7 separate regions of the Homo sapiens genome follow, and regions 1, 3, 4, 5, 6 and 7 are each linked to region 2. The links are contacts of gene promoters, found by promoter capture Hi-C in blood cells and fetal thymus (Javierre and others, 2016). All regions are on one chromosome and are shown on one strand. Each heading gives the region's core, a stretch centred on a gene start or on the middle of the fragment in contact. The rest is flanking DNA. Distances are from core to core; before and after follow the strand shown. Region 1 overlaps OPA1 (OPA1 mitochondrial dynamin like GTPase). Region 2 holds the start of HES1 (hes family bHLH transcription factor 1). Region 3 overlaps OPA1 (OPA1 mitochondrial dynamin like GTPase). Region 4 overlaps OPA1 (OPA1 mitochondrial dynamin like GTPase). Region 5 has its middle 82 kb from the start of LINC02038. Region 6 has its middle 59 kb from the start of LINC02038. Region 7 overlaps OPA1 (OPA1 mitochondrial dynamin like GTPase).

What was found. The method cuts DNA at HindIII sites, captures the fragments that hold promoters and counts their contacts. A CHiCAGO score of 5 or more calls a contact.
Region 1: a fragment that was not itself captured here is called in contact with the fragment with the promoter of HES1 in region 2 in 3 of 17 cell types (naive B cells, total B cells and naive CD4 T cells); the score reaches 12.4 in naive B cells.
Region 3: a fragment that was not itself captured here is called in contact with the fragment with the promoter of HES1 in region 2 in 2 of 17 cell types (total B cells and naive B cells); the score reaches 5.8 in total B cells.
Region 4: a contact is called between a fragment that was not itself captured here and the fragment with the promoter of HES1 in region 2, in 5 of 17 cell types (naive B cells, total B cells, activated CD4 T cells and 2 more). The highest score is 10.0, in naive B cells.
Region 5: a fragment that was not itself captured here is called in contact with the fragment with the promoter of HES1 in region 2 in 4 of 17 cell types (erythroblasts, megakaryocytes, total B cells and 1 more); the score reaches 8.8 in erythroblasts.
Region 6: a fragment that was not itself captured here is called in contact with the fragment with the promoter of HES1 in region 2 in 15 of 17 cell types (M0 macrophages, megakaryocytes, erythroblasts and 12 more); the score reaches 36.2 in M0 macrophages.
Region 7: a contact is called between a fragment that was not itself captured here and the fragment with the promoter of HES1 in region 2, in 9 of 17 cell types (total B cells, naive B cells, megakaryocytes and 6 more). The highest score is 17.1, in total B cells.

The regions. Positions count from the first base shown.
Region 1 is chr3:193,670,105-193,673,223 of GRCh38, reverse strand. All of the region lies in intron 29 of OPA1 (OPA1 mitochondrial dynamin like GTPase), which reads right to left. It overlaps LOC102724808 (a long non-coding RNA gene), which reads left to right. Exons shown (of 5, transcript XR_924835.3): 3 at 2,330-2,416. Among named protein-coding and RNA genes, the nearest start is that of OPA1-AS1, 44 kb to the right of the region's middle. The HindIII fragment of the contact is 2,906 bases long and covers 1-2,886 here.
Region 2 is chr3:194,134,443-194,138,023 of GRCh38, reverse strand. HES1 (hes family bHLH transcription factor 1) reads right to left here and starts at 1,876. Exons shown (of 4, transcript NM_005524.4): 1 at 1,536-1,876; 2 at 1,312-1,407; 3 at 976-1,063; 4 at 1-341. The coding sequence starts at 1,643. RefSeq lists silencers at 1-182, 2,909-3,448, 3,519-3,581 and enhancers at 1,750-1,909, 719-1,918. The HindIII fragment of the contact is 7,369 bases long and covers 1-3,581 here.
Region 3 is chr3:193,634,783-193,637,299 of GRCh38, reverse strand. It overlaps OPA1 (OPA1 mitochondrial dynamin like GTPase), which reads right to left. Exons shown (of 31, transcript NM_130837.3): 9 at 1,778-1,882; 10 at 19-105. Among named protein-coding and RNA genes, the nearest start is that of OPA1-AS1, 8.7 kb to the right of the region's middle. The HindIII fragment of the contact is 1,071 bases long and covers 715-1,785 here.
Region 4 is chr3:193,651,505-193,655,081 of GRCh38, reverse strand. It overlaps OPA1 (OPA1 mitochondrial dynamin like GTPase), which reads right to left. Exons shown (of 31, transcript NM_130837.3): 22 at 55-220. The region is part of intron 4 of LOC102724808 (a long non-coding RNA gene); the gene reads left to right. Among named protein-coding and RNA genes, the nearest start is that of OPA1-AS1, 26 kb to the right of the region's middle. The HindIII fragment of the contact is 3,832 bases long and covers 102-3,577 here.
Region 5 is chr3:193,760,719-193,763,939 of GRCh38, reverse strand. No RefSeq gene overlaps it. Among named protein-coding and RNA genes, the nearest start is that of LINC02038, 82 kb to the left of the region's middle. The HindIII fragment of the contact is 5,071 bases long and covers 1-3,221 here.
Region 6 is chr3:193,783,376-193,786,642 of GRCh38, reverse strand. No RefSeq gene overlaps it. Among named protein-coding and RNA genes, the nearest start is that of LINC02038, 59 kb to the left of the region's middle. The HindIII fragment of the contact is 229 bases long and covers 1,603-1,831 here.
Region 7 is chr3:193,688,343-193,691,691 of GRCh38, reverse strand. All of the region lies in intron 29 of OPA1 (OPA1 mitochondrial dynamin like GTPase), which reads right to left. Among named protein-coding and RNA genes, the nearest start is that of OPA1-AS1, 63 kb to the right of the region's middle. The HindIII fragment of the contact is 6,511 bases long and covers 1-3,349 here.

The DNA of each region.
Region 1 (3,119 bases), core at 184-2,683, 460 kb after region 2:
TTATGTCATCATATTTTCCAAAGGCTTGAGTTTTTACTCCCTCCCAAATGATTCTGGCACAGTAGTGAAAAGACCCAGGCCCAAATCTCAGCTTCAGCATCTACTACCTACGAGTTCCTAACCCTCCATTTCATCTGTAAAATGAGAAAAATAACTACCTAACTCAAAAGTTGTGAGAATCAAATGAAAATTCACATAAAGCATTTAACCTAATATCTGGCACAAGAAAAGTATTCAAATGTTATTTTACATTCATAAACAGTTTCAAGTTTTTACACAAAATCAAAAGGAATTTATTGTAAAATAAGGAGAAAAGACTCCTTAGGTTTTTGTTTTTCGTTTTTTTTTTTTTTTTGAGATGGAGTCTCGCTCTGTTACCCAGGCTGGAATGCAATGGCACAGTCTTGGCTCACTGCAACCTCTGCCTCCCGGGTTCAGGCGATTCTCCTGTCTCAGCCTCCCGAGTAGCTGGAATTACAGGCGCCTGCCACCATGCCCAGCTAATTTTCGCATTTTTAGTAGAGACGGGGTTTCACCATGTTGGCCAGGCTGATCTCGAACTCCTGACCTCAGGTGATCCACCCGCCTCGGCCTCCCATAGTGCTGGGATTACAGGCGTGAGGCACCGCATCCGGCCAAGACTCCTTAGGTCTTAGAGCAATCTAAATGATCAATAATGCCCCTTGAATGTGTCAGTATCAATAAGTCTCTGATTACACGCACAGAGAATAAAAAGTGTAACAGGCTTTAGTGAACAAGGGTTCCAGGCAATTTCTATGAAGGCCCAATACCTCACAATAACCTAGTAACAGCAGATACAATGTTCACAGAAAAAACAATAAAATAATTCCACACTGTACTGGTGAAACTTGGCTTAGCAGCAAACACTACTACCAATTGTTATTGATGCCCAGATACTTAGTTTCTGAGGTAGAATGGGGCAAAAAACAAATTGCACTTATGATGACAATCATAAGATAGATTTTATGAATTATAAAATAGATCATAATAGAAAGAACAACTTTGAATTGAACTATAACATACCAATCTTCATCTCTCCAAAGAAAGTATTCTAAAGTTATACTATTTCAATAAACAGATTGGACACATTACTAAAACTTACACTGGGACTCCAAACAGATTTTATCTAAGTTGACACCAAACTTAAAATATCTATTTAAAAAATCCTTTGAAACTGAATTTTCTAGAAAATCAAAAGAATTTCATGAAAGTCCCAGTGGGCATATTTTAACACCAGACAATTCTAAGTATGGGTAGATACTGCAAACAAGAAATTAAGGTAGAAAAATCAGCTGCATATCCTATTAAATTATCCATGAGGTAACTCAGTGTTTCAACGTCTTCAGGGATGATGTTCTCAAAAGTCTCATTTCCTCTAAAGTACTTTCACATGACCCTAATCCATTATTAGTTATAAAAACAAAATTTAACCTTTTTTTAACCTTTTATGCATAAACAATTTCAGACTTACAGAAAAGTTGCAAGACCACTACAAAGATCATATTTCTCCTGAAACATTTGTTGTAATCATGCATTATCATCCCCAAATATTCTACTTTGTATTCGCTATGAATAATGGTATTTTCCAAAATAATCCCAACCTAATAAAAATTTAAAAATTAACACTGATATATTACTACAATGGAACCCTCGGATCCCCTTCAAATATCACTAACTGGCCCATTAATGTCCTTAGAGCAAAAAGATCCAATCTAGGATCATACATTGCATTTAGTTTTAAGTCTCTTCCAACTGGAGCAGCTCTTCACTCTTTCCTTGTCTTTCATGATCTTGATGCATTTGAAGATTACAGGCCAGTTATTTTGCAGACTGTGCTCTAACTTGGGTTTGTCTCATGTATTGTTATGACTGAATTTAAGTTCTACATCTTTGGTAAGAAGTACTTCAGGAGTCTTCTTGCATTTTAGAGTCTTCTTGCATATGGTTTTGATTTGACCATTACTGATAATATTAACTCTGACCACTTGCTTAAAGTGATGATTGCCAGGCTTCATCCACTGTAAAGTTACTCTTTTCCCTCTTTTAATTAGTACATATTTTCTGTGAACATATTTTGCGTGATGACATAAACATCCCTTTTTGCATCATGGTTTTATTCCCTTATTTATATAATTACCAATGTATGGATTCCTATTTCATTCAATGAGTTACAATTTGTTACTGTCATTATTTTGGGGCCCAAATTGTCCCCAGCCTGGCCAGTTGGAGCCTCCTTCAGAGGGTTTCTGTGACCTGCTGACATCTCCTCATCATCTTTCAAGCACTCCCTTCCTTTCTACACCCACAGGCTCATCCTGTCCTTTCCCTGCTCCAGCTATGGAATCTACCATATCTCCAAAGAATCCTGGAAGAGCCTCTCCTGAGACAAAATCATGTGAGCTCCTTTTTCATTTCTTCAATCTTCCTAACTCTAGCTTTATGGTTTCATTTCAATAGTGAACACAGTATATCTTCTCCAGGATGTGAAAGAAAAATGTACTACTACTACTTATGTACTCATCTTAAAGGGCAGTCAGGGCTGGGCATGGTGGCTCATGCCTATAATTCCAGCACTTTGGGAGGCCGAGGCGGGCGGATCATGAGGTCAGGAGATCGAGACCATCCTGGCTAACATGGGGAAACCCCGTCTCTACTAAAAATACAAAAAATAAGCCAGGCATGGTGGCGGGCGCCTGTAGCCCCAGCTACTCGGGAGGCAGAGGTGGGAGAACCACCTTGCAGTGAGCCGAGATCGTGCCACTGCACTCTAGCCTGGGCGACACAGCGAGACTCCATCTCAAAAAAAAAAAAAAAGGTGGGGGGGAAGTCTCCAAGGTAAGGAAATGATTTAAAATCGTACAAGCTTAAAACTGGCAAAAATATGAATGCATCAACATTTTAACACTCTATACAATATTCTGTAACAGGCTGAAACTGTAGTAAAAATTTGATTGCCTCCCTTTCTCCAAATCCAATCAACCAACACACTATGTTCTAATTGAACAGGCTATACTAGAAACTTTGATCCTTATAATACATTAATAACTTAAATTTGGAAAGTTTTCTGGCTGAAGTATCCATGACCCTATTCCCAAGTG
Region 2 (3,581 bases), core at 627-3,126:
CTCTCCAGCCTGGCTGCCCAGCTTGCAGGGGGCGCCGCCGGGAGGGGGCGCCGCGCCCCCGGGGATGGGCACGAGTGGCGGCGGCGGCGCGAACGGCGCGTGCTGGGGGCCGCCGGGTCCCGGTGGGGGCGGTGGCGGCGCCTGCAAGGCGGGGTGCGGCTGCCCGGGGTAGGTCATGGCATTGATCTGGGTCATGCAGTTGGCCAGGTGGCCGAGCAGCCGAGTGCGCACCTCGGTATTAACGCCCTCGCACGTGGACAGGAAGCGGGTCACCTCGTTCATGCACTCGCTGAAGCCGGCTCGGTACTTCCCCAGCACACTTGGGTCTGTGCTCAGCGCAGCTGCGGGCCAGAAAGAGACAGACGGGTCACCGAACGGCCCTGGCCCCGTGGCCACTGCCTCCGCCCTGGGAGGTCCCTGTGGCGCGCCTCCCTGACCATGCGCCCGTGAAACTGCCTCCGGCAGGGAGGGTGAGATGGGTTTAGAAAAAACCAGCCACCTCTCCACACTAGCGTTGCTGCCAAAAGCCGAGCCACTCCTTCCCGATTCCCTGTAGCTGCATTTAAACCTATCTCAGCCCCAGATCTGTCACCCCCACCCCCGCGCGCGATGTGACCTTGGACAATGCCTCCCAATCCATCATCCAAGCCTCATTTCCCCTTCTGCAACGGGAAGGAGTGCTAAACCAGTGACCCCCAGGCTCCACGCAGTTCCAAACCGCCACAGTCCTAAGTCCTTTCGCCCCTACCCGGCGCCCGCCACCCTCGCGGCTGCAACCTCTTTCCCTCCCTTTCCGGAACAGTAACAACTTGGAGTTGTGGCTATAAATAAGCCCCAGACCGTGGGAACGCAAGAGTGAGCCAAGGCAGTAAAATGTAGCTGAATGCCTCTCACAACCACGGGCGGAAGTCTGGAAGAAATCACCGCGAGGCGAGCGGGACGCCCGCACAGGGGGACGCGGCGAGCCGCCCTCACCCGTCATCTGCGCCCGCTGCAGGTTCCGGAGGTGCTTCACTGTCATTTCCAGAATGTCCGCCTTCTCCAGCTTGGAATGCCGCGAGCTCTGCATAGAGTAGGCAAGAAAGGAAAGTGAGCCCCGTGTCAGCTGCTTCAGAGTGCTGGGGGTCCCTCCTCCCGGCCACGGAGCGCAAGCATTATCTCTGGACCCCAGCGAATAAGGCCGGGCCCTCCCGCCTGGGAGAACGCAGTACCAGCGAGTGCCAGACCCCGCAGGGCGGGGGGTTTCACTCTTAGTAGCTGAGAAAGTGTTTGTTTTTTAATTAAAAGAGCGAGCAGCATTTCCCCACTTACATCTTTCTTCAGAGCATCCAAAATCAGTGTTTTCAGCTGGCTCAGACTTTCATTTATTCTTGCTCTTCGTCTTTTCTCCATAATAGGCTTTGATGACTGCAAATAAAAAAAAGAGTTCTGTGTTCCCATGGAATCTGCCATCCCGGGGTTTCAAGACAGAAAGAAGCCCCCCAACCCCTACTTAATTTTGAGGGGCTGCAAAGAGATACAGGTACCGCCCTTACCTTTCTGTGCTCAGATGCTGTCTTTGGTTTATCCGGTGTCGTGTTGACACTGGCTGGGGTAGCAGCCACCGGGGACGAGGAATTTTTCTCCATTATATCAGCTGGCATTTTCCTTTTTTTTTTTTTTTTATCTCTAGAGAATTTTATTTTTGGAGTTCTTCACGAAAAAGAATTTTTTGTTTGTGTCTCTTTTACTTGAGACTTTCACAAAACTACTGAGCAAGTGCTGAGGGTTTATTATATTTTGTGGCTACTTGGTGATCAGTAGCGCTGTTCCAGGACCAAGGAGAGAGGTAGACGGGGGATTCCGCTGTTATCAGCACCAGCTCCGGATCCTGTGTGATCCCTAGGCCCTGGCGGCCTCTATATATATCTGGGACTGCACGCGAACGGCTCGTGTGAAACTTCCCAAACTTTCTTTCCCACAGTAACTTTCAGCCAATGGGAGGAGGAGACACGCGGCACCGCTCGTGGACCGCGCCCCCCCATTGGCCGCCAGGCACAAGGTCTGGCGGCCAATGGCGCGCGCCTGAGCCCAGGGCACCGGAGGCTACAACGTCAATCAAAAGGATTTTAACCCTTTGCTACTCTCCCTCTGGGCTTTGGTTTAGAGATTTTTTTTTTCTTTCCGCTTTGGTCTTGATCTTGTCTATTTCTTTTGGAGCCAGGGTCTTTGCTCTTTATGCCCTCTCTCATATGTAACAGAGCTGCTTTGACTGTAGTAAGTTCATTTGAAACATATTTTTTTTAAAGGTATAAACAATAAAGAAAAAAACAGCAGTGGTTAAAAGGGGGCGGGGGGAGGGGGGGACGGGTGTAAGAATGTGAGTTACCGACACATCTAAAGTTCCCGCTCAGACTTTACATTCAGGAGGGTGAAAGTAGATGGTAAAGGAAAAGGGCCAAAAAAATTTTCCTGTTTCCATGCAGAAAAAGGAAAAATTGCCTTCTACCTCACAAATGCAGGTTTTTCGGAGCAAGGTAGTTCTTGAATCCCACCCCCACCCCGTCTTTCAGAAATTCCTCGTTTGGATTTGGGGCCTTAGACCCCGGGCTTCCCCAGGAAACAATCAGAATAATTTCCAACTGGGTGGAAGGAAACGGTATTTCAAATGAAAAAATGAACAAGGGGGGCTCCGAGGGCAATGACTCAGGGACTCGCGCCCTCCTTCACCACCCTTTCCCTTTTCATCCGTAGGCTTTAGGTTCTGCGGCGCGTTGAGGTGGCGGGCAAGGAAGCAGCCTCTCCCTCCTCGCCCCGCGGGCGGCCTCGGCCCCCGGCGCCCGCGGGCCCTTTAAGAGCTACACCAGCCGAGCTGCAGTTTGACATCAGCCGGCCGGCGTGGGCGCGCCTGGAGCCGGAGCACGTGCCAGGATGTTTTATTGCCGCCGCGGCTGCGGCCGGGCCGGGAGGATGTGTGTGTGCGTGCGTGTGTGAGTGAGTGTGTGTGCGCGCGCCCCGGGGGCAGGGAGGCGGGGGGCGGCGACGGGCGGCGGAGAGCGGGGGCCGGTTCCTGGTCCCCGGGAGAAGCCAAGAAGGTAAATAGCAGCTGCTGTGCTCGAGCCTGGGAAAACCCCGCCCCCTGCGCCTGGCCCGGGCTCATTGGCGCGCGCTGCGTGTGGGGGGTGTGTGTGTGTGTGTGTCCGGGGCCCCCTCCTCCGGCCCCGCCGGGCCAGGAATCCGAGGGGGCGGCGGGCTGGGAGCCGAGCCCCGGCGCTTACCCTCTCTCCCCACCCCCGCCTCCCCAGGCCAAGGTCAGCTCTTCCCGGCGGGGAGCGCACACCCGGGGTGGAGAGTGGGGAATTCTTCCAACCCCCGCCTCCCCACCCTCACTTTCGGGCTTGGGGTTTTCACTCGGCCGAAAGCCGCATTCGCAACAGCCCGGGGGCGAGGTGGGGGCCTCCAAGTTTGCTCCTCGCCCCCGCCCTCTCCCCGCGGGGCCCTGGGCGCCCGCCGCGGTCACGGGATGCCTGACCGCACTTAGGAAGCGGCCGGGTCAGCCTCCTGCCTCCGCTCGGCGACTGCGGTTAAAGCGGCTTCGCGCC
Region 3 (2,517 bases), core at 1-2,500, 500 kb after region 2:
TATCAATTTTTCACATACCCGTGGCAGATGATCTTGCGTATTATAACTGGCATCATAATCAGAGAGAACATCAAGAACTTCAGAATACATGTCAATCAAAGATTTCTGTAAAAATTTTAAAAAGTTATAATATAAAACAGTAAAAGTAAAGAAAAAAATATAACAGATGTGTCAAGAGAAAAAAGTGATAAATTCAAATTGTTTTTCCATAATCATTGTACTGTTTTCTCAAATTACATAAATACATCTTCATCGTAAAAACTAAAACGGTACAGATTAAAAGTCCATTTCTCATTCAGTTTATTTAGATACAATGATTTAATAAAGTAAATTAATTCAGGATTTCCTAACATTCTAATTAAATAAGATGGAAATTATTACTTAATACTGATGAGCTAATACTGAATGCAAGAAAAGACCATTAACACCAAAAAGGCAAAAAAAAGGTGGTCAGGTAACCAACTGACAATGAAATTATTCTTTGCTAAGTTTGAGGCATGCATGAGAGAGAAAGAGAGAGGACAGAGAGCACGTGCAAGCAAGCATCTGAATAAAGGATAAACCAGGAAGACTGTTAAACCAGTAAGGGTGGTTAAGTATCCACTGACAACTGGGCAGGCTGAAATATGAGTGTAGCAAGGGCAAATATCCTGTATCGTTTCTTGCTGTAGAATCAGAAATGAATGTGGTGCCTTGCATTGCGTGTAACAAGCTTCATGTAAATTTGATGAATGAATGAACAAAAAAATACACAGGCCTGAAAAAAAGGGGTACCATCAAGCATTTAATAATTATGGATAAGTTTTAATGCTAAGGCAGGAGCAAAATGATGGCTTAAGGGTCCTTTCATTTCTTAATCCCTAGAAAAAATTAAATGGCAAGCAATTGCCAACCCACCAGCCTAAAAATAAACAAAAAATGTTAATTGCCACTGCATTTTATGAGAGAAAATACTGTTTCTGAGGTAAACTCTACATATATTAGCACTTGGAAATGACTTTTCTCAGTTCTAAGTGCCACTTGTAAATAGTCATGTTATCTGTTTTATGCAGTCATGATTTATAGTCAAAGCTACTAATGCATGTTTGTTAAGCTAGAACTGTATTATCTTTGGACCTTGACTACAGAATGTACATGCCATGATTTACTGCAGTTTTGCTACATATAAACTCTGCTTACTTATATGAGATTTAAGTTAAATAATTGTTTCAATTCAATTTAGCACATGTGGTTTAGTTGGGTGGGGAATAGTAAGACTTGATTTATTGGTAAATAAGTTCACCAATGTGCTGATAGTAACAATACCAGCACACACTTTTTCGAAAGTTCTTTGAAATGCCTAAGAAAGCTCTCCTTAGAAGAAAAGTGTTAATTTTTTAAAAACTGAAGAAAGTGGTCTAATCATTCACTGGCATACAAGTAAAGCAATGATGATAAGTCACTTACATGTCCATCAATTAACAATTCTGATTTTATATAAAATTTTATGTAAAAGTTAAGCCTAGAGATAAACTAGATATTTCAGAAAAATAAACTGATTCACACGAAATAACTCTTAAAAGTGTAAAGATTTTATGGGCATAGTATAAAACAAGTATTTGGAGACTACAACTTATAAAATGTCTTAATATAGGAAGAGATCCTCCATCCTCCAAGCACATTAGGTTAGAAAGAAAAGGATGACAGAATACTTTACAGCTCCTTAGAAACTGGTACTGATGAACACACAACGTTAAGCGGTAAAATTTTGAGAATAAACAAGACAAACTTAGAATACCTTAAGCTTTCTATGATGAATGCCTTTGTCATCTTTCTGCAATACTAATTTTCTCAATTCTTTGTTCTCCTTTTCTAATCGTTCCAAGATTCTCTGATACTTCAACTGCAATAAAATAATAAGTGTAACTATATAAGCAAAAGATGGGTTATCAAATAGTATTAAGTCTAAATTAAAATCTTCCAAAATCTTGAAGTCATATCTCCTATTTAAAATGTATTACATTTTAAAAGCATCTACGAAAACATTAGGAATAAAATAAACAATGACTATTATCTCTTACAAACAGTGGAAATCATTGTAATTTTCTATCATAATTAAGAATTTCACTTGGAAAATTCCTTGCTACTCACATTGAAAAAATTATTTTGAAATAGTGAAAACGTAAGAATTTAAAGAAGTAGTTCTTAAATACATTCTAGAAGGGAGTATTTCCTATTATATCAAAATTTTAAGTCTTCACATTACAGGGCCACTTAACAAAAATTCAAATTCTTCCCTTTCTTCACATTATTTTAGATTTTAATTAAGATGCTATAAAATAATAGCTAGCAGTACCCAAGCATGCATTATGTGACAGACTCCTTAGTAAGTGGTGCAAACGCATTAACTCCCTTAGCCTTCACAAAAACCCCATAAAGCAGGAATTACACAGACTAGGAATAAAGAGCGAGGAATATCTGAGAGCCTGACCAAGGTCACTTAGTAGAGGAGCAGGGTTTTGAATAGAGGGCTGTCAG
Region 4 (3,577 bases), core at 768-3,267, 480 kb after region 2:
TCCTACTCCCTTCAGATAATGCTTCTTACCCATTTAATTAAATTATATCCTAACCTCTACTGCTTTATTAGGAAGTTGTTTATCAGTCCACTGTTTAAGCTTGATATCCACTGTGGTGTTAAAAGTTCCTGAATTCATGGTCTGCGCAGCTGGAAGGTAGATGTTTTCAATCACATGAGTTGATACTCTTTCCCACAAAGATTGTTGAAGGATTTCCTCCCTGAAATAAAAAAGTATCAAAAGCACCAAATCTAAATATAATATTGTTTTTAAAAACAGCTTGACTGAAGTATCATTAACTTATAATAAACTGTACATATTTAAAATTTTGATAAGTTTTCACATGTGTATATACCTGTAAATCGCACCAGTCAAGATAATGAACGCATCCATCATCCTCAAAAGTTGTAACCACTGGAACTGCTTTCTGTCACTGTGATTACTTTGTATTTTCTAGAAATTTATATAAATGCAATCATGTGGCATATACTCTTTTTTTGTCTTTGTTCTTCCACTCCAGCATAATTATTTTGAGGTTCATCATGCTGTTGTATGTATTAATATTTCACTTTTTTTTTTTTTGAGACAGGGTCTTGCTTAGTTGCCCAGGCTGGATGGAGTACAGTGGCACATTCATGGCTCACTGGAGCCTCAACCTCCTGGGCTCAAGCCATCCTCCCACCTTATCCTCCCGAGTAGGTGGGACTACAGGTGGACGCCATTATGCCTGGCTAATTTTTTAAAATTTTGTAGAGATGGGGTCTCACTATGTTGCTGAGGCTGGTCTTGAACTCCTGGGCTCAAGCAATCCTCTTGCCTTGGCCTCCCAAAGTGTTGGGATTACAAGTGTGAGACACCGCATCTAGCAATATTTCACTTCTTTTTATTTCTGTGTAGTATTATGTTGCATGAATGTGTTTATCCATTCTTGTGTTGATAGACCCTTAGGCTGTTTCCAGCTTTTGGCTACTACAAATAAAGCTGCTATGAGAATTCACGTACAAGTCTTTCTTATGAACACATGCTTTCATTCCTCTTAGGTAAATACCTAAGAGTGGAATGTTTGGATCATATGGTAATTACATGTTTAATTTTTTTTTGAAATGTTTGCCTCAGTTTACATTTCCACTAGCAGAGAATGAGAGTTCTAGATCCTCTACATCCTTGCCAACACTTGGTATAGTCTGTCATTTAAAATTGTAGCCATTTTAGTAAGTTTATAGTGGTCATTGTGGTTTTACGTTGTATTTCTCTAATGACTAATAATTCTGAGCATCTTTTCATGCACACTTATCTGCCTAGTATTAACATATACTTCATGTGCTTACGGGAGAGTCTGAGACTGAAAATTTCTTGGTATAAATATGACAACTTATCAGATCACAGCACAGAGATGTTATAGAATGCTGTAGATAAAATTTTTCAATAATTCATGATTAAGGTAACAATGTAAAAGATGCATAATCATGTTGAAAATTCTGCCTTGAAAGACATCTTAAAAGAACATGGGTCACTAATAAAAAAATACAACTATTTCAATTTGAAATCTCAAGGAAATATTTATTTGGGTAATAAACTTAGAATACTACAATATAAAAAAAAAACTCTGCTTATCAGGGGATCCTTCTTAAGAATAATCTCAACCCTTTAGGATATAGCCACAAATCTCAGGGTAGCAGAAATATCCTGCTGTCCAAAAGCCCAGCTGAACTTCTCTGGTGAGGAGAGTCAACATCTCCTACCCTCCAAGACTATTTACTAAACATTTTGTGTAAAATTAAGTCTACTGAATCAATCAACACAGATCCTGGTTTCCCACTGCTAACTTTCAGGTCACTTTCCAGTTACAACCAGTAAAGAAATCAGAGTCTGAGGAGGATATATGACTGGGGCCCAAAAGGACAAAGACAATTTAGTCACTGAGTTAATGACAGAGAGTGGGAGAATTTAAGGAGCAAGATGAAGAAAAGCAGCCTGTCAGGGCCTCCTCTTCAGATACCACTTTATACACAATCTCAAGAAGATTACTGAAAGTTGAACTGAAGACCAGGATCCAGCCTCTGACCTCCAGGGCTTTTTTCTCATCCTGCTTCAGAAGAGACATAGTCTGTTATTTTTCCCTGGAGTCTGTGGGCCAGGAATCCATATCCCTGACACCCTTTTTAAAATCCTGATTACCAAATCCCGAGAAGCTAAAGGCAACTTTCTCAAGGGAGGTTGCTGCTTTGACATCCACAGATGCAGCTGTTATCACTTCTCCTTGCCCAGCCTCTCCTGCCTTTCATCGCCAAGCTGCTGTCCTCTGTCTCAGACTCCCACTGCTCCCCTCCATCCCAACAATTTCTGTTGTGCTCCTGTAATACCCGGTTCCATGACAAACCATTTTACACTCTCATTCTCTTTCCCTATTCTTACCTCCAAACCTTTCCTTAAGGAAAGTGATTGTCCTCTGTCCTCAAATTCTGCTGAGATGAAGCTATTCAGCAGTTAAATGGCCTTCAGAGTTAGAAAGTAGAAGTTAAGTCCTCCTCACCCCAGTCTCTCTTCTGAACCATCAGTTCTCAATGTTCATATAAAAACCATTACACTGTGAAGCCACTTCATCTAGTTATGTCATCTGCTACCTTATTGCTTGCTGCTATCATCTAACAATTTTCCCAGCCTATATTCTATGGTTTTTTTTTTTTGTTTGTTTGTTTTCAGACAGGGTCTCACTCTGTCACCCAGGCTGAAGTGCAGTGGCACAGTCTCGGCTCACAGCAACCTCCGCTTCCTGGGTTCAAGCGATTCTCCCACTTCAGCCACCCAAGTAGATGGGATTACAAGCGTGCACCACCATGCCTGGCTAATTTTTGTATATTTATTAGAGACAGGGTTTTCACCATGTTGCCCAGGTTGGTCTTGAATTCCTGAGCTTAAGTGATCCGACCATAGGGGCCTCCCAAAGTGCTGGGATTACAGGCATGAGCCACCGTGCCTGGACTATATTCTGTGTTATTATAGGTGACTTCTCTATTCCAGGTTTTGCCATCAACCAGGGATAACTTCTACTAATACACAAAATATAATTAGCAAAATATAATAAAGGTAATAGTTTTATTGCCTTCTTTATCTACAGAAACTTTACCTACATTCCACTTTAATTAAATTCTTTTTAAAATGGATTTTTTTTTATTTTAAAGTAGAGGACTATTATACTCCATATAATAATTTCAACCAATACAGAAAATGTAAGAAGTACCCCATAGTTCCTCTTTTATAAGATAACCACTATTTATGGTTTTATTATTAAAAAAATTATGTCTACGTAACTATTTGTGTGTATTTACACAAGTGGTTCATAATTATACATACTGTTTTATAAATCCCTTTTTTAAATCTAAAAGTATATTGTATTTAGTTTTCCATGTCAACATCCTATACTTTTCAAAGGCTACTTCTATCCATAGAGCAGTAATCTGCTCTATATAAACCAAATACTATATAATTCCAAATGGGACACATAAATTGCTTTCCATTTCTTCACATTTATTTAAAAAATCAAGGTGAAAGGTCTTGTGTGTTCATCTTTGTCAAA
Region 5 (3,221 bases), core at 329-2,828, 370 kb after region 2:
TAGGTGTTAGCAGGATCATTCAGGCTGCTGCGTGGAAAACAGACTGCAGCGGGGCAGTGCAGAAAGCTGGGAGACCACTTAGAGGGGCCTGAGATAATCTAGACAAGCACCAACATTGAGTTGAGACGAGCTGACAATTGAATTTGCTGCTGACATTGAACGTGATATGTAAGAAAAATGGAGGAATTAAGGGAGACTGCAAAGTTTTTGGGCTGGACAACTAGAAGGAAGGAGTTGTCATGAACTGAGATGAAGAAGACTTCAAGAGAAACAGCTCATTTATCATGTTGGTTTTAAGACACCTATTAAATATTCCAGTACAGTAGCAGAGTAGACAACTGGGTATCCAAGTCTGAAGACAGAAAGAAGTCCGAGCTGGTATGGTAGGCCCAATAATGATCCCCCAAATATGTTCCCACCCTAACCCCCAGAACCCATGAGTGTTAATTTGGGAAAAGGGTTTGATTAAGTTAAGGACTTTGAGATTAGCCTGAATGATCCAGATGTGATCACCATGGCTCTTAGAAGGACACAAGAGGAATAAAAGAGGAAAAGATGGTGTGATGATGGAAGCAGGGGTTAGAGTAATAATAGCCACAGGCCAACGAATGCTGGCAGCCTCTAGAAGTTAGAAGAGGCAACGAATGGGTTCTCCCCAGGAGCCTTCAGAAGAAACCAGCTCTGCTGGCACATTGATTTTTAGCCCCGTAAGACTTCTGATCTCCAGAATTATGAGAGACTAAATCTGTGTTGTTTTAAGCTACTAAATCCACTAAGCCAGTAATTTGTTATAGCAGCCAAAGAAAAATGAAGATATAAACCTAGGGGCATATTCTAATAAGAATAATGGTCTCCCTTGACTGGGGCAGTGAAAATTAAAAAAAAAAAAAAAAGAATAATGAGATCTCCCAGGGACCAGTACAGAGAGAGAAGAGAGGTGAGCACAGAGGACTGGAGCAGCTGGAGTGATGAGGAGGAAGGCTCACAAGAGACCAAGAAGTGTGAACTGCCCACTAGGAGGAAATCAGGAGAGTGTGGTGCCTGGGAAGCAAAGTGAAAAGAACTTCAAGAAGAGGAAGTGATTTGTTAGGTGAGGTGCCACTGATAGTCAAGACAAATGAGAGGTGAGCACTGACCATGGGATGGAGCCCCTCAATGGCCTTGATGAAAGCAGTTTGGGCAGAGAGGTGGGGGATTGGGGGAAATTCTCACAGCAGGACCCAGAGAGAGTTGGAGAAGTGAAATTTGGTGATGGCATGAGAAGGCAAATCTCTCAGCCGGATGTGGTGGCTCATGCCTGTAATTCTAGCACTTTGGGAGGCCAAGGCAGGCGGAATGCTTGAGCTCAGGTGTTTGAGATCAGCCTGGGCAACATGGTGAAACCCCCTCTCTACTAAAATACAATAAAAATTAGCCGGGTATGGTGGTGTGTACCTGTAGTCCCAGCTACTCGGGAGGCTGAGGCAGGAGAATGGCTTGAACCCGGGAGGCAGAGGTTGCAGTGAGCCGAGATTGGGCCACTGCAGTCCAGCCTGGGCAACAGAGGGAGACTCCGTCTCTGAAAAAAAAAAAAAAAAAAAGGCAAATCAAACCTCTCAACGTGTTTGGCAGTACAGGGAAAATGAGAAATAAGAGGACAATCGAAGGGACACTTGGGATATTGTTTATGGTTTCTATTTAGGCTGTTGACAATGATGTAATAGAGAAGGGGAAATTGAGGATGCAAGATAAGGAAATGACTGGAATAATGTCCTCAGAGAGAGGGAGGGGGGCATAGGATCCAGTTATTCCAGTGCAGGCTGCCTAGACTCTGAGGGCCTCCCCTCCCTCTGGGTTCCTGCTCCACATCCTCCCTGGGCTGAGGAAGCATCCCATTTTCCTCACTCCTGAAGGGATCTCCCAATTTCTTGTGATTCCGCAGCAGCTTGTCGGCAGCCCAGTGAGCTTGCAGGTCAGCAGTGCTTCATCCGGGAGCAGGCAGAGTCCTAGGAAGGCCACTTTGCAGCCAAGGCCAGGTGTTCCCTCTGCCCAACTCTGAGAATGCTTGACCGGAGAAGACCCTGAGAATATCCTACAACAACTCCATCACATTATATGTTCTGAGAGTTAGTACACTTTGAAAAGCCCAACTCTAACTAGGACTGACATTTCAAAATCATGCAAAAACATATTTTTATAGTCATATATGAACAAAAGGGCTTATTCCACTTTCCCCTCAACTTTTAATGACATCAAGTTGTTAATTTCCAGGTTCCTTAATTATACCCAGAATATTTTCCCTTGCCTTCTGAAAACTCCCTTATGTCAATTGTACCCAGCATTCTTCATTGCCTCCAACCCCACATTAGCAGACATCTCATGAAGATGTGAGACAGCTACTGGATTCCTCTGTAAGAACAGACAGTGAAGACCCACATGTTCTTCTGTATTTATGATAGTATACACTGTATATTTTCAGTTATGCATATTCAATACCTCTGCGCCAGGTATTTATTTATTTATTTATTTATTTATTTATTTATTTATTTGAGACGGAGTTTCGCTCTCGCCCAGGCTGGAGTGCAGTGGCGGGATCTCGGCTCACTCACTGCAAGCTCCGCCTCCCGGGTTCACGCCATTCTCCTGCCTCAGCCTCCCGAGTAGCTGGGACTACAGGCGCCCGCCATCACGCCCAGCTAATTTTTTGTATTTTTAGTAGAGATGGGGTTTCACCGTGTTAGCCAGGATGGTCTCGATCTCCTGACCTCGTGATCCGCCTGCCTCGGCCTCCCAGAGTGCTGGGATTACAGGTGTGAGCCACCGCGCCCGGCCTGCGCCAGGTCTTCTTATATAAAAAGTCACATATATTCGAACAGGAATGGCTGACAATTTTGTGATGGTCACAATTAATGACCAGTTTCATCAGGGTTCCATTTGCCATAGCTGAATCTGCTTATGTTTGTAAGAATCATTCTTAAATAATTTATACGATTTGAAAGAACTTTATACAGAACTATCCTTGATAGAGTATTTGAACTGGTTACAGTTTATCCCCCTAAACATTGTTTTTAAACTTTATATTTTTGTCTTCAACCTCAACTCTCATCCTAGGATACAAACAATAGTTGTGAATAGTTTGTTTCCGTCTTTATTTTTTTAACTTGTAAATTAATCTCCATCAGGAGAGAGAGCTGGGTAGCCTCGCAGCAGATCAGAGGAGAAGCTAGACGTGGAACCCTGAT
Region 6 (3,267 bases), core at 468-2,967, 350 kb after region 2:
TGGAACCTCACTCTGTCACCCAGGCTGGAGTGCAGTGGCGCAATCTCGGCTCACTGCGACCTCCGCCTCCCAGGTTCAAGCGATTCTCCTGCCTCAGCCTCCCAAGTAGCTGGGATTACAGGCATGTGCCACCATGCCCAGCTAATTTTTGTATTTTTAGTAGAGACAGGGTTTCACCATGTTGGCCAGGGTGGTCTCGATTTCTTGACCTCATGATCTGCCCGCCTCAGGCTCCCAAAGTGCTGGGATTACAGGATTTTTTTTTTTTTTTTGAAATGAAGTCTTGTTCTCTTACCAAGGCTGGAATGCAGTGGCACAATCATAGCTACTGCAGCCTCAACTTCCTGAGCTCAAGTGATCCTCCCATCTTAGCCTCCTGAGTAGCTGGGATGACAGGCACATGCCCAGCTAACTTATTTTACTATTTGTAGATATGGCGTCTCCATATGTTTCCCAGGCTGGTCTTGAACTCTTTCAAGAGACCTTCCCATAACAGCTAACTATTAATATTTAATCAGCTGGCCTCTGGTTTTCTGGTCTCAGATGTCCCAGGTCCACCAGGCTTAGAAGGGAGGCCATTTCTTCCATCAGGCTTGGAAGGGAGGCGGTTAGTTCCCAGGCTCTGCAGCATTTGGCGAATGTCCTTGGACTGCTGCATGGTCACTTTCCTATGAAGAAAACTGAGGCACAGAAAGGCTCTCTACGACAGTTGTCCCTTACCCTGGGCCAAGATATTCAGGGTAGAAGAAGGGCCCAGGTGAAGGGAAGAGAAAGCTGGGGGCAACACAGTGGGCTCCATTTGGGGAACCATTTTCTTTTTCTTTTCTTTTTTTTTAGACGGAGTCTCGCTCTGTCTCCGGGCTGGAGTGCAGTGGTGCAATCTCAGCTCACTGCAACCTCCGACTCCTGGGTTCAAGTGATTCTCCTGCCTCAGCCTCCCGAGTAGCTGGGATTACAGGCATGCGCCACCACACCCAGCTAATTTTTGTATTTTTAGTAGAGATGGGGTTTCACCATGTTGGCCAGGATGGTCTCGATCGCCTGACCTCGTGATCCACCCACCTCGTCCTCCCAAAGTGCTGGGATTACAGGCGTGAGCCACCGCGCCCGGCCTGGGGAACCATTTTCTAAATCTCCCAGGCATGCGTCAGGTCTTACTGTGTCTCCATCTGCACTTTTTCACTTCAACGGCCATCTACATTATTCAATAACTGCACCAATTGTTCGTTATACGAAACTGCATTCTCTTTACAGAGCATCATTTCAAGCAGGCTTCAGTTTTTGCCACGCTTGTTTGACGGGGTCTAAATGTGCCTATTCTTCCTTCCTGTCACTTTCATCCATTCAGTTCTCTCATGAGACTGAACATGTTTGAAGAGAGAGACCCTTAACTATACAATCAGACTAGGATTTCCCTTTAAGATGGAGTTTCCAGGAATGAACTCTGCTTAAAAGCAGAGACCACCTCTTTGGGAATGTGAGGGAGAGAAATAATCAGCTTCAATTTGTGAAGAACCATTTATCATGAATGCTCTGAAACCATGTCTGTTTTAGATCTTTTCTCCAGCATAATTCAGTGATTGCACATATATCATCGAAGCTTCCTAGACTCCTGGGCTCAGCAGATGGCCCCCCAGAGGCCAGCTTTTCCATTTCTCATAGTATACTTAGGCAAAGACAGAGTGTCATTTTAGCACTTTCCTAGTTGGTATTTTTAAAAATATATTTTTGTACTGTTTAATGCTAGGTATTTAATACCTGGGAGTACTTAAAACCCTAATGGCAAGTTGAATTATCACTGCTTTGCAGCCATGGAAGCTAAAAGAAAGCTTAGAAAAAAATGATTTGGTGCATGTGTCATCTTCAGTTCAAGGTGGAAGGAGAAACCTGAGTCCTTTGACCGTATCATATTGACAGCGTGACTTCTTCCTAGCGCATCTGAGTATATTGAAGTTATTATTTAGAAAACTCAGCCAAGTCTCTCTGTTCTCAGATGCTCAACTCTAATGCCTCCAAAGCACAAAATCAGAGTAGCTCAAATAGGGCAGCAGCTTAGTTTGGATAAATCATGTCAGTCCCTGGATGATTACTGTCCTTATAAAGTAGGGGTCACACCCCCCAAAGAGCAGTGCAAAATCTCTTGGAAAATGTACATGGGAGATGCAAAAAAGAATGCATCTGCAGTCATCTCTTTATATCTATGTGGAGATTATCTGTTTAACAAGCATTAAATGAGAGGTTCATCTCTTTTTTTTTTTTTTTTTTTTGACAGAGTCTCATTCTACAGTCCAGGAATGCAGTGGTGTGATCACAGCTTGCTGCAACCTCTACCTCCTGGGCCAAAGTTGTCCTCCCATCTCAATCTCCTGAGTAGCTGGGACTGCAAGCACACAGTACTAGGTCTGTTTTTTTGTTTTTTTGTTTCTTTGTAGAGATAAGGTCTCACTGTATTGCCCAGGCTTGTCTTGAACCCCCGGGTTCAAGCTCTCTGTGTGTCTCAGCCTCCCAAAGTGCTGGTATTACAGGTGTGAGCCACCATGCCCAGCCTGCATTGTGTTTTGTCTTGGGTTCACAGTGTAGGGTTCACATTCGGACCACTGGTGCAGAAGAGGGTAAATTTAAACCCCTTCAAGTCACAAACTTGCAGGTATACGTGCTAAGTGAATAAAAGGAGGGAGTTCAAGTGGCTCACAACTATAATCCCAGCACTTCGGGAAGCCGAGGTGAAAGATCGCTTAAGGCCAGGAATTCAAGATAGCCTGGGCAACATCTCAAGATCCAATCTCTACAAAAAATCTAAAAAACTTTTTAAAGGTGAGGGCAGTGGTAAACAGTATAATACACTGATTTTGTATTTAAAAAGGAAAAAGGAATAGGGATACACATATACCTACTTATTTGCATTGTATCCATGATGACTACATCTGAAGGAATGCACCAGAAGCTGGAAACATTGTTCCTAGAAGTGGAAGATGGGTGATGGGAGGAAGGAGTAGGAGGGAGGATTTCTACTTTATATCGTTGGTACCATTTTAAACTTTAAACCATGAGAACGTATTACCTATTCACCAAAGAATCAATACAATTTGATGTAAAACATCATGCAACCTGTTCCATGGCAGGGTCAGTGGCTCCAGGTCCTGGGAGTAGGAGAGCAGTAGGTTGGAAAGGGTTGTTTTAGAACCTGTCTCAGCCAGCCTGGCTGAGAGTTGTGACATCCTTTGACCTCAGACTGTGCTCCTCCTGCTACCCAGAGTGTGGCCAGGA
Region 7 (3,349 bases), core at 385-2,884, 450 kb after region 2:
AAAACAATGAAACCATTTTAAAAAACTAAAAGAAAATAGAGGTGGCCTTAGACTGGGAAATGACTTTTTAAATATAAAGTAGTAAGAGTTACAAAGGAAAAGATCAATCAATATGGCCATATTGAAATGTATACTTTTATTTATATGTCATAAAATTAAAAGACAAAGGAAGCTGTGGGAGATGCTTGCAACAAACATGAGAAGTGCAATGGTGCTATAAAAATACATACAAAAAAGTACTTTGCCAGCTATAAATAAGTTTAAAAATACCAGAGCCACTAGAGGTAGATTTACATTATTTATTTTAGGTTTTCATGTTTATAGACTTCCAAATGAAATATATACTCTCTGAAATGTAGATTTCCTCCACAAATGTGAACTGCTCATAGTACATGCCAATCCCCTCTTAAAATTGGAAAAGTCATGATCTATACTACTTCACATGCACCTCCTACTTTATTTTATATTCTGAGATGGGGGTCCTACTCTGTCGCCCAGGTTGGCGTGCAGTGGTGTTGGCAGGGCTTACTGCAGCCTCAACCTCCTGAGCTCAGGTGATCCTCCCGCCTTGGCCTCCCACGTAGCTAAGACCACAGGCACGTGCCACCACGCCTGGCTAAGTTTTTATTTTTAATTTTTTTGTGGAGATAGGATCTCACTTTGTTGCCCAGGCTGGTCCTGAACACCTGGGCTCAAGTGATCCTCCTGCCTTGGCCTCCCAAAGTCCTGGGATTACAGGTGTGAGCCACTGTGCCTGGCCTCCTATTTTAAAACACAGGTTATAGTAAGCATGATAAATATTTTTGTTCTTTTAAGGTAATTTAACATATTAGTGGAAATGATCAATTAAGGTGGGTTGGCTGGTTCAAAGTGAGTGACCTAGAGGCAAAACTGGCAAGCATTCTACTTTCACTATGTAGGAAAACCATGTAAGATGCATTTAATATTTGACATTTATATCTTTTATATTTAAAAGTAAATAATCTGCAATTGAAGATACATGTATTCCTTTTTACCAGCGAGGCAGCTATTAGTGATGAGTACCCAAGAAAATGAAGAATTGTCCTTTTTATGAATTCTTATTAGCATTGCAGGAACTCAAAAAAGCCTACCACGGTTGGATATAAAGAACGTAACATTTTCATATTCTTTTTCCAGTAATTTATTCTTTTCATATTATTTTTCCAGTAATTTAAAACTTCTAGGTCTCACTATGTTGCCCAGGCTAGACTCAGACTCCTGGGCTCAATTGATCCTGCTGCCTCAGCCTCCTGAGTAGCTGAGACTACAGGTGAGTGCCACTATGCCTGGCTGAAGCACTTCTTATTCTAGGCATTAGATTCAGACTGATATAAAATCTGTGTGTGTGTGGGGTGGGGTGGGGGGGGAGTCCAGTTGTTTTAATCAAGCTATGTATTGAGAAAATATGATAATAGTTATTATGAAGGTAGCATTAACCCCTTATATATAAAATTAAACTAGAGAAACTTAAAAAAAAAAATCCTAACCCATCTCCTAGAAGTTGAGTCTCAATTTTTTGGTAGGCTGACTTCCATTTTTTAAACAGCAGACAAACAAGTAAATATTCTTGTTTTCCCAAAATAAGGCCACATTCTTAGTTTAAAAATTAATTCATCTAGTTGCTTAGAAACAGCTTAACCTATTTTTTTTTTTTTTCAGTGAATGTAAGAAAGTTTCACATCAGTTCATCAGTTGGAGGATTTTTAAAAAGTGGGGAGGTTAGGAGAAAGACATTTTCTAAATTGTTACCTAGAATGCTGGAAATGAATGTGGTCTTAAAAAACCATCTAACTTAAATCACACAACACACGGGAATCTCAAACGGGTGCTTCTCTCCACATTTCATTGAGAAATATTTCTACTTGGAAATGCTGTACTGTATGAAGAGAAGAAATCCAACTCCATTTGATACACGATTTGAGTACAATAGGGCAGTGCATGGCCAGGTCTACCCATTCTTTTGGCCTACTGGTGACCCCCATCTTAAGCTGGATGGACTACTGCAGGGAGGTGGTACAGCAGCCTCACTCCCTACAAGAGACTATTCAGAGAAGATCCAATTGAATTGAAAGATACCAAGAGCCACCCTGATGCAGGTGTCTCACCCTGTAAGGTCTAAATGAAAATCAGATTTTTCTAAAATTAACAGGTAAGCAGTTTTTTTCCTAAATAAAAGCAAAAAGACTATTTAATGTACTTTAATATGAAAACCACAAAATGAAAAAATGCCGAATTTCCCTTAAATATTTACGATTAGAATATCAGGACACAGTACTACCATGCCTTGAAACCTCAGGAATGACAAAGGACACTTAACTAAGTTACCAGGAAGTAATGGGGGTAGGAGGTGTGAACGGAGGGGAGACTGGAGGTGAGTGTTAAAAGAGCAATTATGATAAATGTATCCTTTAAACATTAACTAAAAAACATTTATTTCTTTGTTCTTTCACTTTCACAATGTACTTCATAAAGTGATATGAGGACACAGATGATATCCTACCTTTGAGAAGCATTCCTGGCTTACTCTGCTATGATGTATCTACTATGTATTTCCAAATTTGGCGTTTCATTTGGTTCTCATACAACCTTGCAGGTATCATTGCTAAATATGAGGACATTAAAGCCTGGAGTTAGCCTTGTCTACACTTCTCTGATTAAGAAACACATCTGCTACGATGTTTGTTTGTCTGACGCAGAGTCTTGCACTGTCACCCAGGAGTGCAGTGATGCAAACACGGCTCACTACAGCCTCGACCTCCCAGGCTCAAGCGATTCTCCTACCTTAGCCTTCCAAGTAGCTGGGACCACAGGCATGCAGCACCACACCTGGCTAATTTAAAACAATTTTTTTTGTCAAGATGGGGGTCTCACTATGTTGCCCAGGCTGGTCTCGAAGTCTTGGCCTCAAGCAATCCTCCCCACTCGGCTTCACAAACTGCTGGAATTACAGGGCGTGAGCTACTACACCCAGTCTGCTACTGTATGTTAACTCATAATAACAAAGCTCATAGTGACGAAGCAAATGCTGTTATTTTAAGTCTCTTTGGTCTTTTTTAAGTATTACCTTTGACTTAAAATAAGACGCATTTCAGGGAGAATCGGGAGGCGGAGGTTGCAGTGAGCTGAGATCATGCCACTGCACTCCAGCCTGGTGACATAGCGAGACTCTGTCTCAAAAAAAAAAAAAAAAAAAAAAAAAAAAAAAAAAAAAAAAAAAAAAAGAAAAGACCCATTTCAGTAAAAATCAGGGAACAAAACAGTTACACCTCCTAAGTAGTCTATGCCTAAGGATGACCGGACACTCCATAATATGCTATCATATTCTGAT